4 separate regions of the Homo sapiens genome follow, and all the other regions are linked to region 2. The links are contacts of gene promoters, found by promoter capture Hi-C in blood cells and fetal thymus (Javierre and others, 2016). All regions are on one chromosome and are shown on one strand. Each heading gives the region's core, a stretch centred on a gene start or on the middle of the fragment in contact. The rest is flanking DNA. Distances are from core to core; before and after follow the strand shown. Region 1 overlaps SSC5D (scavenger receptor cysteine rich family member with 5 domains). Region 2 holds the start of PPP6R1 (protein phosphatase 6 regulatory subunit 1). Region 3 has its middle 7.4 kb from the start of ZNF579. Region 4 has its middle 9.9 kb from the start of ZNF579.

Region 1 (2,700 bases), core at 17-2,516, 260 kb before region 2:
GTTAAGGGTTGTGATGGGGTCAGGGGCCATGGTGGGATCAGGGGTAGTAGTGGGGTGAGGGCTTGGGGAGGGGTCTGGGGATCTAGAATATTCTGAGACTGTACTGGAGTATGGAGTTGTGTCCAAATCTGGGGTTGTGTCAGATTCTGGGACCTGCTCTGAGGTAGGGGAAAGGCTGGTCACCTCCGACGGTGTAGAAGGGTCAGAGGTCAGCTCTTTGGGCAAGGTGGGTAAGGGCGTGGGTGAGGGCTCCGGGGTCAACGCGGGAACCACACTGGAGTCAGGGGTGGACAAAGCAAAGTCAGGGCTTGTCAAGATGAGGTCGGGGTTCGTCCGGGAGGCCGGGTCTGGGGTGGGTGGTGAAGTGTCCGGAGCGTCAGAGGTCGCCTCGGACGTCAAGGCTGAGTGGGGAGTGAGCTCTCGACTGGAGTCAGAGGTCAGCGCTGGGCCTGGGGGTCCCGGAGAGGCGGAGGGACCTGGGGACGGGGTTGGGGGCGCTGTCCTGGTCGCAGCGGGCCGCGGTGGCCGGCGCTCGGGCCACGGTTTCCTCGGGGAACCTGGAGGAGGAGGAAAGACAGACGGACGGTCTGAGGTCAACCGGCTCCGCCCACCACGCGTCCCGCCCCGCCCCTCGAGGAGCCGACCAATGGAAAGGCACAGAGCCTCGAGACGTCATGGGTCACCGGCAGACTTCACCCGGCCCTAGGGCCCCTCCTCCCTACGTCCTCCGATGGCTCCAGGCGCCACCTGGCGTCCTCCACTGCGGGAGGATGCGGGGATGCTCCGGACTCGGGGATGCCGAGGGGCACGCGGGTTGCGGGAGCGGGTGCAGGAGGGTGAGGTGAGGGAGGGATGCGTGGGGTGCTGGGGTGCGGGAGGGGGCGGGAGTGCTCAGAAGCGTGCAGCATACGGGAGGATTCTGAGCCAGCGGGGGACTGGGAGATGTGCGGAGCCAGGGGAGGCAGGGAGACCAAAGAGGGCTCCGAAGGGTAATGTTAGTAATCAAAATAAATACTTTTATGGATTTTTTTATTTTTTAAGATAAAGTCTGGCTGTGTCGCCCAAGCTGGAGTGCGGTGGCAAGATCATAGCTCACTGTAACCTCGAACTCCTGGGCTCAAGCGTTTTTATGCAATATTTTTAAACAATCAAAATTAATCCAAAAGATCCACAGTTAACCAAAGTTAACATTTTAACCAAAGACGGGATCCAACAGGGCCAGGATTAGGGGGAGCCCAGCGAGGCGGATAGGATCCTGTCTTCAGTGACTTTTTTTTTTTTTTTGAGATGGAGTCTCGCTCTGTCGCCCAGGCTGGAGTGCAGTGGCGTGATCTCGGCTCACTGCAAGCTCCGCCTCCCGGGTTCACACCATTCTCCTGCCTCAGCCTCCCGAGTAGCTGGGACTACAGGCGCCCGCCACCACACCAGGCTAATTTTTTGTATTTTTAGTAGAGACGGGGTTTCACCGTGTTGGCCAGGATGGTCTCGATCTCCTGACCTCGTGATCCGCCCGCCTGGGCCTCCCAAAGTGCTGGGATTACAGGCATGAGCCATCGCGCCCGGCCTTCAGTTACATTTTTGATACCGAGTTCATCATGGGTTTTTTTTTTTTTGGCATTAATTTTCATTTTAAAAAATACTGTATTATGATATTATGTATCTTGATTTTGGCGTTTTGGGCACCCCCTTAAATTTTGGGCCTGAGTAGCAGGAGGAGCCTGACCCTCTTCTGGGGCTGTCTTCCAAGTGAGTGCCAATTTTATCCCCATTTTACAGAAGGGGGAAATTAGGGCAAGAGGGCAGGTGACTCGCCCAAGGTCACACAGACATAGTTTGCAAGTTGCAGGGCTAAGACTTGAACCCAAGTTGTTTGCACATAGAGTCTAGGCAATGAAATCTCACATCTGCAGTGATGGGAATGCGCTGTGATCTACCGTGCCAATACAGTAGCCACTGGCCACATGTGGCTACCAAGCCCTTGAAATGCGGCCAGTGTGAATGAGAAACTAAATGTTTCATTTTCTTTTATTTTATTTTATTTTTTTTTTTGAGACGGAGTCTCACTCTGTCGCCCAGGTTAGAGTGCAGTGGCACGATCTCGCCTCACTGCCAGCTTTGCCTCCCAGGTTCATGCCATTCTCCTGCCTCAGCCTCCCGAGAAGCTGGGACTACAGGCGCTCGCCACCATGTCCTGCTAATTTTTTGTATTTTTAGTAGAGATGGGGTTTCACTGTGTTAGCCAGGACGGTCGCGATCTCCTGACCTCGTGATCCGCCCGCTTCGGCCTCCCAAAGTGCTGGGATTACAGGCGTGGCCACTGCGCCCGGCAAATGTTTCATTTTCAAAGTGTTAATTCATTTAACTTTTTTTTTTTTTTTTTTTTTGAGACGGAGTTTCACTCCTGTTGCCCAGGCTGGAGTGCAGTGGCGCGATCTTGGCTCGCTGCAATCTCCGCCTCCTGGGTTCAAGTGATTCTCCTGTGTCCACTTCCTGAGTAGCTGGGATGACAGGCATGTGCCACCATGCCCAGCTAATTTTTTTGTATTTTTAGTAGAGATGGGGTTTCACTATGTTGTTCAGGCTAGTCTTGAACCCCCGACCTCAGGTGATCTGCCTGCCTCAGCCTCCCAAAGTGCTGGAATTTCAGGCGTGAGCCACCATGCCCGGTGCTCTTAGCTACCGTATTGAACCACACAGATC
Region 2 (2,700 bases), core at 84-2,583:
TTTTTTTTTTTTTCTCGAGACGGAGTCTCGCTCTGTCACCCAGGCTGGAGTGCAGTGGCCTGATCTGGGCTCACTGCAACATCCACCTCCCGGGTTCAAGTAATTCTCCTGCCTCAGCCTCCTGAGTAGCTGGGATTACAGGCGCACACCGCCACGTCCGGCTATTTTTTGTATTTTAGTAGACACGTGGTTTCACTGTGTTGCCCAGGCTGGTCTCAAACTCCTGAGCTCAGGCAATCCGCCCACCTCGGCCTCCCAAAGTGCTGGGATTATAGGCGTGGGGTCTTGAACTCCTGAGCTCAAGTACAGGCAGGCGTGAGCCACCACGCTGGGCCCTTTGTTTTTGAGACAGGTTCTCGCTCTGTCTCCTAGGATGGAGTGCAGTGGTGCAATCCGGCTCACTGCAGCCTCGGCTCAAGCGATTCTCCTGCCTTAGCCTCCCGAATAGCTGAGACCACAGGCGCGGGCCACCAGGCCCAACTAATTTTTTAAATTTTCTTTTGTAGAGACGGGGGTCTCCCTAGGTTGCCCAGGCTGGTCTCCAACTCCTGGTCTCATGCCATCCTCCGGCCTCGGGCCTCCTAAAGTGTTGTGATTACAAGCGTAAGCCACCGCGCCCGGCCAATTCGGAGTCTTAAAACAAAAACAAAAACAAAAAAGTTCCTCGCGCCCACACGATTTTTACAGTAGGCCTCTAACATGGGTAGAGAGGGGAGCTATTAAAGTTGGGGAAACCGAGGCTCAAAGCCAGAGGGACCTTCATCAATCTAGACACAAGGTCTAGGAGGTCTCTTTCAGTTGATGCTATTAGAAGCTGCTTTGGGCGGAACTGGCAACACCAGCGACCCGGCCGGGACTATCGCCAGCAGACGGAAACGACTGAGGGCCTCTGAGGCTCGGAGGCGGCTAAGCGCGAGAGCCGGACGGAACGAAGGCGCCTGGCTTTGGCTGGAGCGAAAACCAGGTCTGGATTTCGCAAGAGCCCGACCCTGGAGCCAAAGCTCCACTATGATTAGAGGAGACAGAACAGCGAACGGATTTCCAAACGGAGCGAGTGGGAAGGGAAATCCTGGAGCGGAATATTCACGGGGCCTTGGAACGGAGCCGGTGCGCAGCTGCGGCTCACTGAGCTGTCTGGGTTTATTCCGGGGCAGACCGTTGGCACCAACGGGCGCAAGCGCGTCTGCGGCGGCGGGGTTCAAGAGTGGGCGGTGTCGGGAGCGCCCGGGCGCACGCGCACTGCACCGCCCAGGCGTGCACCCCGCCCCCCGCACCTGCGCACCAACACAGCCGCGGGAGGGCGGGGCCTCCTGCGTCGTCCTGCGCTAGGGGGATTGTGGGATAGTGGCGGAGGGAGCCGGGCGTCGGAGGCCCTGAGGCCGGCCGCAGAGCCCGGAGATTGAGCGGCTTTGGGGAAGGGGTGGTTAAGGAAGTAGGCCTCGGCTTCCGTCGGTCGCTGCTCGGCTCTGCGGCCCGTTTGGACCGCGGAGGAGGTCGCCTTCCCCTCCCGTGGGGCGCTCGGTTGGACTGTGGAAACCGGGGCAACTTCCCCCGTCTTCCCGGCTGAGGCGCCTGCGTGGGCCTCGCGACCCGGCTCGCCAACCCGCCTCGGCCCGCACGCCCACCTCGCCTGCGGACCCCGGAGGTGCCTACGCGGACTAGTGACGCCCCCCGCCCGTCGGCAACTCCACCCGGCGCTGACCCCCTCAACTCTGCAGGACCCGGCGCGCGAGGACCCCACGACCCGCGGGCGCCTGCGCGGACCCCGCGAGCCCCGGCGCCTGCGCGAGTCCCCGACGCCGCCCCCGCCCCCACTCACCGGGCCCCGCAGCAGGGGCCGGAGCCGCCGGCGGCGGGGCGGGGGGGGGCGCCCCGATGAGCCCCGAGTGCGAGGAGCCGCCGCCCCCCCTCGCAGGTGAGCGGCCCGCGTCGCCCGACCCTCTCTCTCCAGGGCCAGGCGCCCACGTCTTCCCCTCTCCGCGTCCCCTCAGGCTTTTCCCTCTCGGGACCCCCGCGGGTCTTTTCTGCTTCGGATCCTTTCCCTCCTTCCTTCGGGTTTCCTCTCCACGGCACCCCGTTTCTTCCCCCTCGACCCTCCCCAGTCTCTTAATCTCTTCACCTCAGCTCCGCCGCCACCCTAGTCTCAGTCTCTTGCTCTCGGCCTTTTCCCACTCGCTCTCTGCAGCTGCGCTCCCCAGTCCCTGAGCCTCAGCTCCGCTCTCTTGCCTCTCTGGCCGGTTCCCCGGCCCCCCAGGAGTCTTTCTCCCTGGTTACCCTGGACTTTGCCTGCTTACACCCTTCCCTCTCGCCCCGATCTCTGCCCCGCCACCTCTTCCGTGGCGCAGCCTCCTTAGATCCCCGGAGCTCAGGACTGGAGGAGCGGGGCTTGTTTTCACCTTGACCGACCCTCTCCCGCCTCCGGCTTCTTGTGCGAGGGACCTGGGAGCGGGGCTTCTCTGGAGCAGCCACCACTCGGGCCTGCTTCAGTGAGATGAAGCCTGCTGAGGGCAGGCAGGGAGCCTGGCGCTGGGCACCGAGGAGGGGGCATCAGCCCTAGGCCCTGCCCTGGAGGTGGGGCCGGTCCCTGGAGGGGGTACAAAGGCAGAGCCGGACAGTCACAATTCCTGCGTGTCGTGATCGAGGTGACTTAGGGAGCTGCAGGGGGCCACAGAGCGGGAGGCACTGGTGAGACTGACTGGA
Region 3 (2,700 bases), core at 199-2,698, 330 kb before region 2:
CAATAGTGTGATCTCGGCTCACAGCAAACTCCACCTCCTGGGTTCAAGTGATTCTCATGCCTTAGCCTCCCAAGTAGCTGGGATTACAGATGTGCACCACTACACCTAGCTAATTTTTGTATTTTTAGTAGAGACGGGCTTTCACCATGTTGGTCAGATTGGTCTCGAACTCCTGACCTCAGGTGATCGATCTGCCCGCCTCGGCCTCCCAAAGTGCTGGGATTACAGGTGTGAGCCACTGCACCCTGCTGAGTTTCTTAAATTAAATGCCCCACAGGTTGCCATTCTCAAATATTGAACATACATATATCCTGTGATGCAGGAATTCTACTGCTAGGCGTAAATGCTAACTCAAGTCCCCCTGCACCCAGAGACATACAAAAACATTCATAGCAGCAATACTTTCAACCCCAAACTCAGGACAACCAAAACGCCCATCAGCAATACAGTGGATAATTAGCGATGGCATATTATGCAGTGGAATACTATACGGCAACAAGAATGAATGAGCTGCAGATAAACACAGTATCATGAATGAAAGTTACAAAGATACAGGACCCAAAAAGCCAGAAACAGAGCATGATTTCATTTACATAACATTGAGGCCAGGTGCAGTGGCTCACGCCTATAGTCCCAGCACTTTGGAAGGCCAAGGCAGGAGGATTGCTTGAGTCCAGGAGTTCGAGATCAGCCTGGGCAACATGGCAAGACCCCGTCTCGAGTAAAAATACAAAAAATAGCCAGGTGTGGTGGCGTGTGCCTGTAGGCCCAGCTACTCGGGGGGCTGAGACAGGAGGATCGCTGGAGCCTGGGGTAGGGGGACGGAGGTTGCAGTGAGCTAAGATCATTCCACTGCATTCCAGCCTGGCCAACAGAGGGAGACCCTGTCTCCAAAAAAAAAAAAAAAAAAAAAGCAAACCCATTATAATGCACATAAAACTAAACTGTAATATTGTTAAGGATACATTGTCAGTAGTAAACCATATAAAAAAGCAAGGACAACAATGTCCTATAAAACTCAGAATAGTGGACTGGACAAGTTAAGCGGGAGGGGATATCCTGGAAGTTTCCACGGTTGCTGATAGCCGACAAAGTTCTAGTTCTTAATCGGACGATCATTTTATAATTATTTATTCAATTGTGTGTTTGTATTGTGCATTTTTTCTCTGTGTGTCTTATATTTCACAAAGAAGATATTTTAGGCTGGGCGAGTTGACTCATGTCTGTAATCCCAGCAATTTCAGAGGCTGAGGCAGGAGGATGGCTTGAGCTCAGGAGTTCGAGACCAGCCTAGGCAACATAGTGAGATCCTGTCTCTACCAAAAACAAAACAAACAAACAAACAAAAAACCGGCATGGTGGTGCACGCCTGTAGTCCCAGTTACTTGGGAGGCTGAGCTGAGAGGATCACTTGAGCTCAGGAGGTCGAGGTTGCAGTGAGCTATGATCGCACCACTGCACTCCAGCCTGGGCGACAGAGTGCGACCCCGTCTCAAAAATAAAAAATAATTCCGAACGTGTTGGCTCACGCCTGTAATCCCAGCACTTTTGGAGGCTGAGGCAGGCGGATCACTTGAGTTCAGGACCACCCTGGGCAATATGGTGAAATGCCGTCTCTACTAAAAATACGAAAATTAGCTGGGCATGGTGGTGCACGCCTGTAATCCCAGCTACTCGAGAGACTGAGGCGGGAGAATCGCTTGAACCTAGAAGGCAGAGGTTGCAGTGACCCAAGAACATGCCACTGCACTCCAGCCCGGGTGACAGAGCGAGACGTCCGTCTGAAAAAATAAATTAATTAATTAAAATTTAAAATATAAATTAAAAAAGAAAGAAAAAGAAAGGAAAATTTAAAGGAGGAAGACATATTCTGGGAGGAGAAAACAAGTAAGAGTTTAGCACTCAAGGGAGACTTTTTGAATGGAGATCCACTGTTGCCTGTTTGAAAAAGCTCAACCTTTGGGAATAAAATCAGCTAAATCTTAGAGATATTCCTCTCCACTCTGCAACCGCCACTCAAAAACCAGACATGCTTTCTGGTTTGAGAAAAAAAGTATCTTCTTTCGAGAAACAAGGCCCGCCCACTTCGAAGCAGGCACCGCCCCCAGGGACAAGACCCGCCCACTCCGAGACCGGCTTAGAGACAGGCTGAGCCCCGGAGCTGCGCACTGGAAAGGCGCCAGCGTTGCCATGGAGATGGCCGCCGGCCAGGGAGTAATGAATAGGGACCTCGCGAGGCTGAGGTTCCCACCCACCTCACCTGCACCACAGTCCTTTCTCTTCTGGGGCGGTAACGAGAAGGACCCATCCCATTTCCTCCGTGTCTCACAAGCGCCCGGTGCTGGACTGGACACTGCACCCAACGCGTCACATAGCGGCCCCATTTTATAGATACGCTGATTGAGGTTGGAGGGGGGGTGGGAAGCGAGGAGAGGACAGGAGCGGGAATTTTACCCTGAGGACGATCTCAACCGTTGCAAAACATTAATTACTAGCCAGACGCCGGCGACTCACACGCCTGTGTTTGGCGAGCTGATTCCTGCGTGCAGACCTTGGAGCCAGCCAGCGTCCTGCACGCTTGCCTGAGCGGGAGTCTCCCCCGGGCCCCCGAGCCTTCTTCCTTTCAGGAACAGCCTCACTCCTCCCACCCTTCATCCCTTTTTATTCATCCACAAATGCTTGTTAAGCCCCTTGTCTGTC
Region 4 (2,700 bases), core at 121-2,620, 310 kb before region 2:
ATTATTGAAGGAGTTGTGGTTATGTAGGGAACACGACCTGCCATTTGTCTTTCACTTGCTGAACACTTTACACGTACGATCGCAACCACATTTGTTTGTTTTTGCTTGTTTGTTTGTTTTTTGAGACGGAGTTCACTCTTGTTGCCCAGGCTGGAGTGCAATGGCACGATCTCGGCTCACCGCAACCTCCGCCTCCTGGGTTCAAGTGCTTCTCCAGCCTCAGCCTCCCGAGTAGCTGGGGTTACAGGCATGCACCACCATGCCCGGCTAATTTTGTATTTTTAGTAGAGACAAGGTTTCTCCATATTGGTCAGGCTGGTCTCGAACTCCCGACCTCAGGTGATCCACCCGCCTTGGCCTCCCAAAGTGCTGGGATTACAGGCGTGAGCCACCGTGCCCAGCCTGCAACCACATTTGTTAATAATAGGAACCCACTTCTTGAGTATTCACCCTATGTCTGCTTCAAGGGTACTACGTAGATTAGCCCATTTAATCCTCACAACAGCCACATAAAATAGATACTATTATTGGCTCTGTTTTCGTTTTGCCTTTTCATAAACAGCTTTACTGAGGTACCATTTACATATAGACTTCATCCATTTGGTCGTACAATTCGATAATTTTTTTTTTTTTTTTAGACAGAGTCTCACTCTGTTGCCCAGGCTCAAGTGCAGTGGCTTGATCTCGGTTCACTGCAACCTCCGCCTCCTGGGTTCAAGCAATTCTCTGCCTTAGCCACCCAAGTAGCTGGGATTACAGGTGCCTGCCACTACGCCTCACTAATTTTTTTTTGTATTTTTAGTATGAACGGGGTTTCACCATGTTGGCCAGGCTGGTCTTGAACACCTGACCTCATGATCTACCCACCTCGGCCTCCCAAAGTGCTGGGATTACAGGCGTAATTTGATAATTTTTAATAAATGTACAGAGTTGTGCCTCTATCACCACAATCCAATTTTAGAATATTTCCAGGCTGGGTGTGGTGGCTCAGGTCTGTAATCCCAGCACTTTGGGAAGCTGAGGCGGCAGGAGCACTTGGAGCCAAGAGTTTGAGACCAGCCTGGACAACAAAGCAAGACCCTGTCGCTACAAAACATTGAACAAAAATTAGCTGGCTGTGGTGGCAAGTGCCTGTAATCCCAGCTACTTGGGAGACGGAGGTGGGAGGGTGTCTTGAGCCCAGGAGTTGAAGGCTGCAGTGAGCTATATGAGTTGAAGGCTGCAGTGAGCTATGATCACACCACTGAACTCCAGCCAAGGCCACAGAACAAGATCCTGTCTCTAAAAAATAATAATAATAATAAATAAATTGATGAATTAATTAAAAATTTTAAAAAGAATATTTTGATCACCTCAAAAAGACATTCTGTGCCTGTTAATAGTCATTTTCCATTCCCACCCTCAGCTCTGGGCAACCACGAATCTATTTTGTCTCTATGGATGAACCTATTCTAGACATTTCATATAAATGGAATATGCCATATGTAGCTTTGGTGACTGCCTTCCTCCTCTTAGCATAATGTCTTCAAGGTCTATTCACATTGTAAATTGTGTCAGTTCAGTACTTAATTGCTTTTTAGTTGTTGTTGTTGCTGTTATTGAGAGAAGGCCTCACTTTGTTGCCCAGGCTAGAGTCCAGTGGTGCTATCATGGCTCACTGCAGCCTCAACCTCAAGTGATCCATCTCTCCCCAGTTTCCTGAGCAGCTGGGACCACAGGGTGCATCATGACACCTGGATAATATTTTTATTTCTTGTAGAGATGGGGGTCTCACTATGTTGCCCGAGCTGATCTTCAACTCCTAGGCTCAAGCAATCCTCCCACCTTGATCTCCCAAACTGCTGGGATCAAAGGCATGAGCCATTGCACCCACCCTCTTCATTCCTTTTTTACAGCTGAATAATATTCCACTGTATGGATACACCACACATTGTTTATCCTCTCATCCGTTGATGGGTGTTTGTATTGTTTCTACTCTTTGGCTGTTTAAGTAATGCTGCTGTGAACATGCATGTACAAGTCTTTTTTTTTTGTTTAGAGACGGAGTCTCGCTCTGTTGCCCAGGCTGGAGTGCAGTGGCATGATCTCTGCTCACTGCAAGCTCCGCCTCCCGGGTTCATGCCATTCTCCTGCCTCAGCCTCCTGAGTAGCTGGGACTGCAGGCACCAGCCACCACACCCAGCTAATTTTTGTATTTTTAGTAGAGACAGGGTTTCACCCTGTCAGCCAGGATGGTCTCAATCTCTTGACCTCATGATCTGCCTGCCTCGTCCTCCAAAAAGTGCTGGGATTACAGGCATGAGCCACCATGCCCGGCCTTTGTTTTTTTTCTTTTTTTTTTTTTTTGACGGGATCTTGCTCTGTTGCCCAGGCTGGAGTGCAGTGGTGTGCAGTCTCGGCTCACTGCAGCCTCTGCCTCTGAGGTTCAAGCAACTCTCCCACCTCAGCCTCCCGAGTAGCAGGGATTACAGGGGCACACCACCACACCCAGCTAATTTTTGCATTTTTAGTGGAGACGGGGTTTCACCATGTTGGCCACGCTAGTCTCAAACTCCTGACCTCTGGTGATCCACCTGCCTCAGCCTCCCAAAGTGCTGGGATTATAGGCCTGAGCCACTGCGCCCAGCAACAGGTCTTTGTGTGGGCATATGTTTTCATTTCTTTGGGGCAGATTTCTAGGAGCAGAATTGCTAGGCTGTG

The links. Contacts are between HindIII fragments. The CHiCAGO score rates a contact against its expected background, and 5 or more counts as called.
Region 1: a contact is called between a fragment that was not itself captured here and the fragment with the promoter of PPP6R1 in region 2, in 8 of 17 cell types (fetal thymus, naive CD8 T cells, non-activated CD4 T cells and 5 more). The highest score is 6.5, in fetal thymus.
Region 3: a contact is called between a fragment that was not itself captured here and the fragment with the promoter of PPP6R1 in region 2, in 2 of 17 cell types (fetal thymus and non-activated CD4 T cells). The highest score is 6.6, in fetal thymus.
Region 4: a fragment that was not itself captured here is called in contact with the fragment with the promoter of PPP6R1 in region 2 in 1 of 17 cell types (erythroblasts); the score reaches 6.0 in erythroblasts.

The regions. Positions count from the first base shown.
Region 1 is chr19:55,515,081-55,517,780 of GRCh38, reverse strand. It overlaps SSC5D (scavenger receptor cysteine rich family member with 5 domains), which reads right to left. Exons shown (of 14, transcript NM_001144950.2): 14 at 1-557. Among named protein-coding and RNA genes, the nearest start is that of SBK2, 21 kb to the left of the region's middle. RefSeq lists silencers at 385-564, 695-854 and an enhancer at 374-875. The HindIII fragment of the contact is 6,972 bases long and covers 1-2,700 here.
Region 2 is chr19:55,257,650-55,260,349 of GRCh38, reverse strand. It overlaps PPP6R1 (protein phosphatase 6 regulatory subunit 1), which reads left to right and starts at 1,333. Exons shown (of 24, transcript NM_014931.4): 1 at 1,333-1,915. RefSeq lists enhancers at 696-745, 826-875, 906-1,105, 1,111-2,085 and silencers at 935-1,229, 1,136-1,415, 1,546-1,645, 1,816-1,875. The HindIII fragment of the contact is 27,894 bases long and covers 1-2,700 here.
Region 3 is chr19:55,586,931-55,589,630 of GRCh38, reverse strand. No RefSeq gene overlaps it. Among named protein-coding and RNA genes, the nearest start is that of ZNF579, 7.4 kb to the right of the region's middle. RefSeq lists a silencer at 2,220-2,269. The HindIII fragment of the contact is 6,157 bases long and covers 1-2,700 here.
Region 4 is chr19:55,569,616-55,572,315 of GRCh38, reverse strand. No RefSeq gene overlaps it. Among named protein-coding and RNA genes, the nearest start is that of ZNF579, 9.9 kb to the left of the region's middle. The HindIII fragment of the contact is 6,950 bases long and covers 1-2,700 here.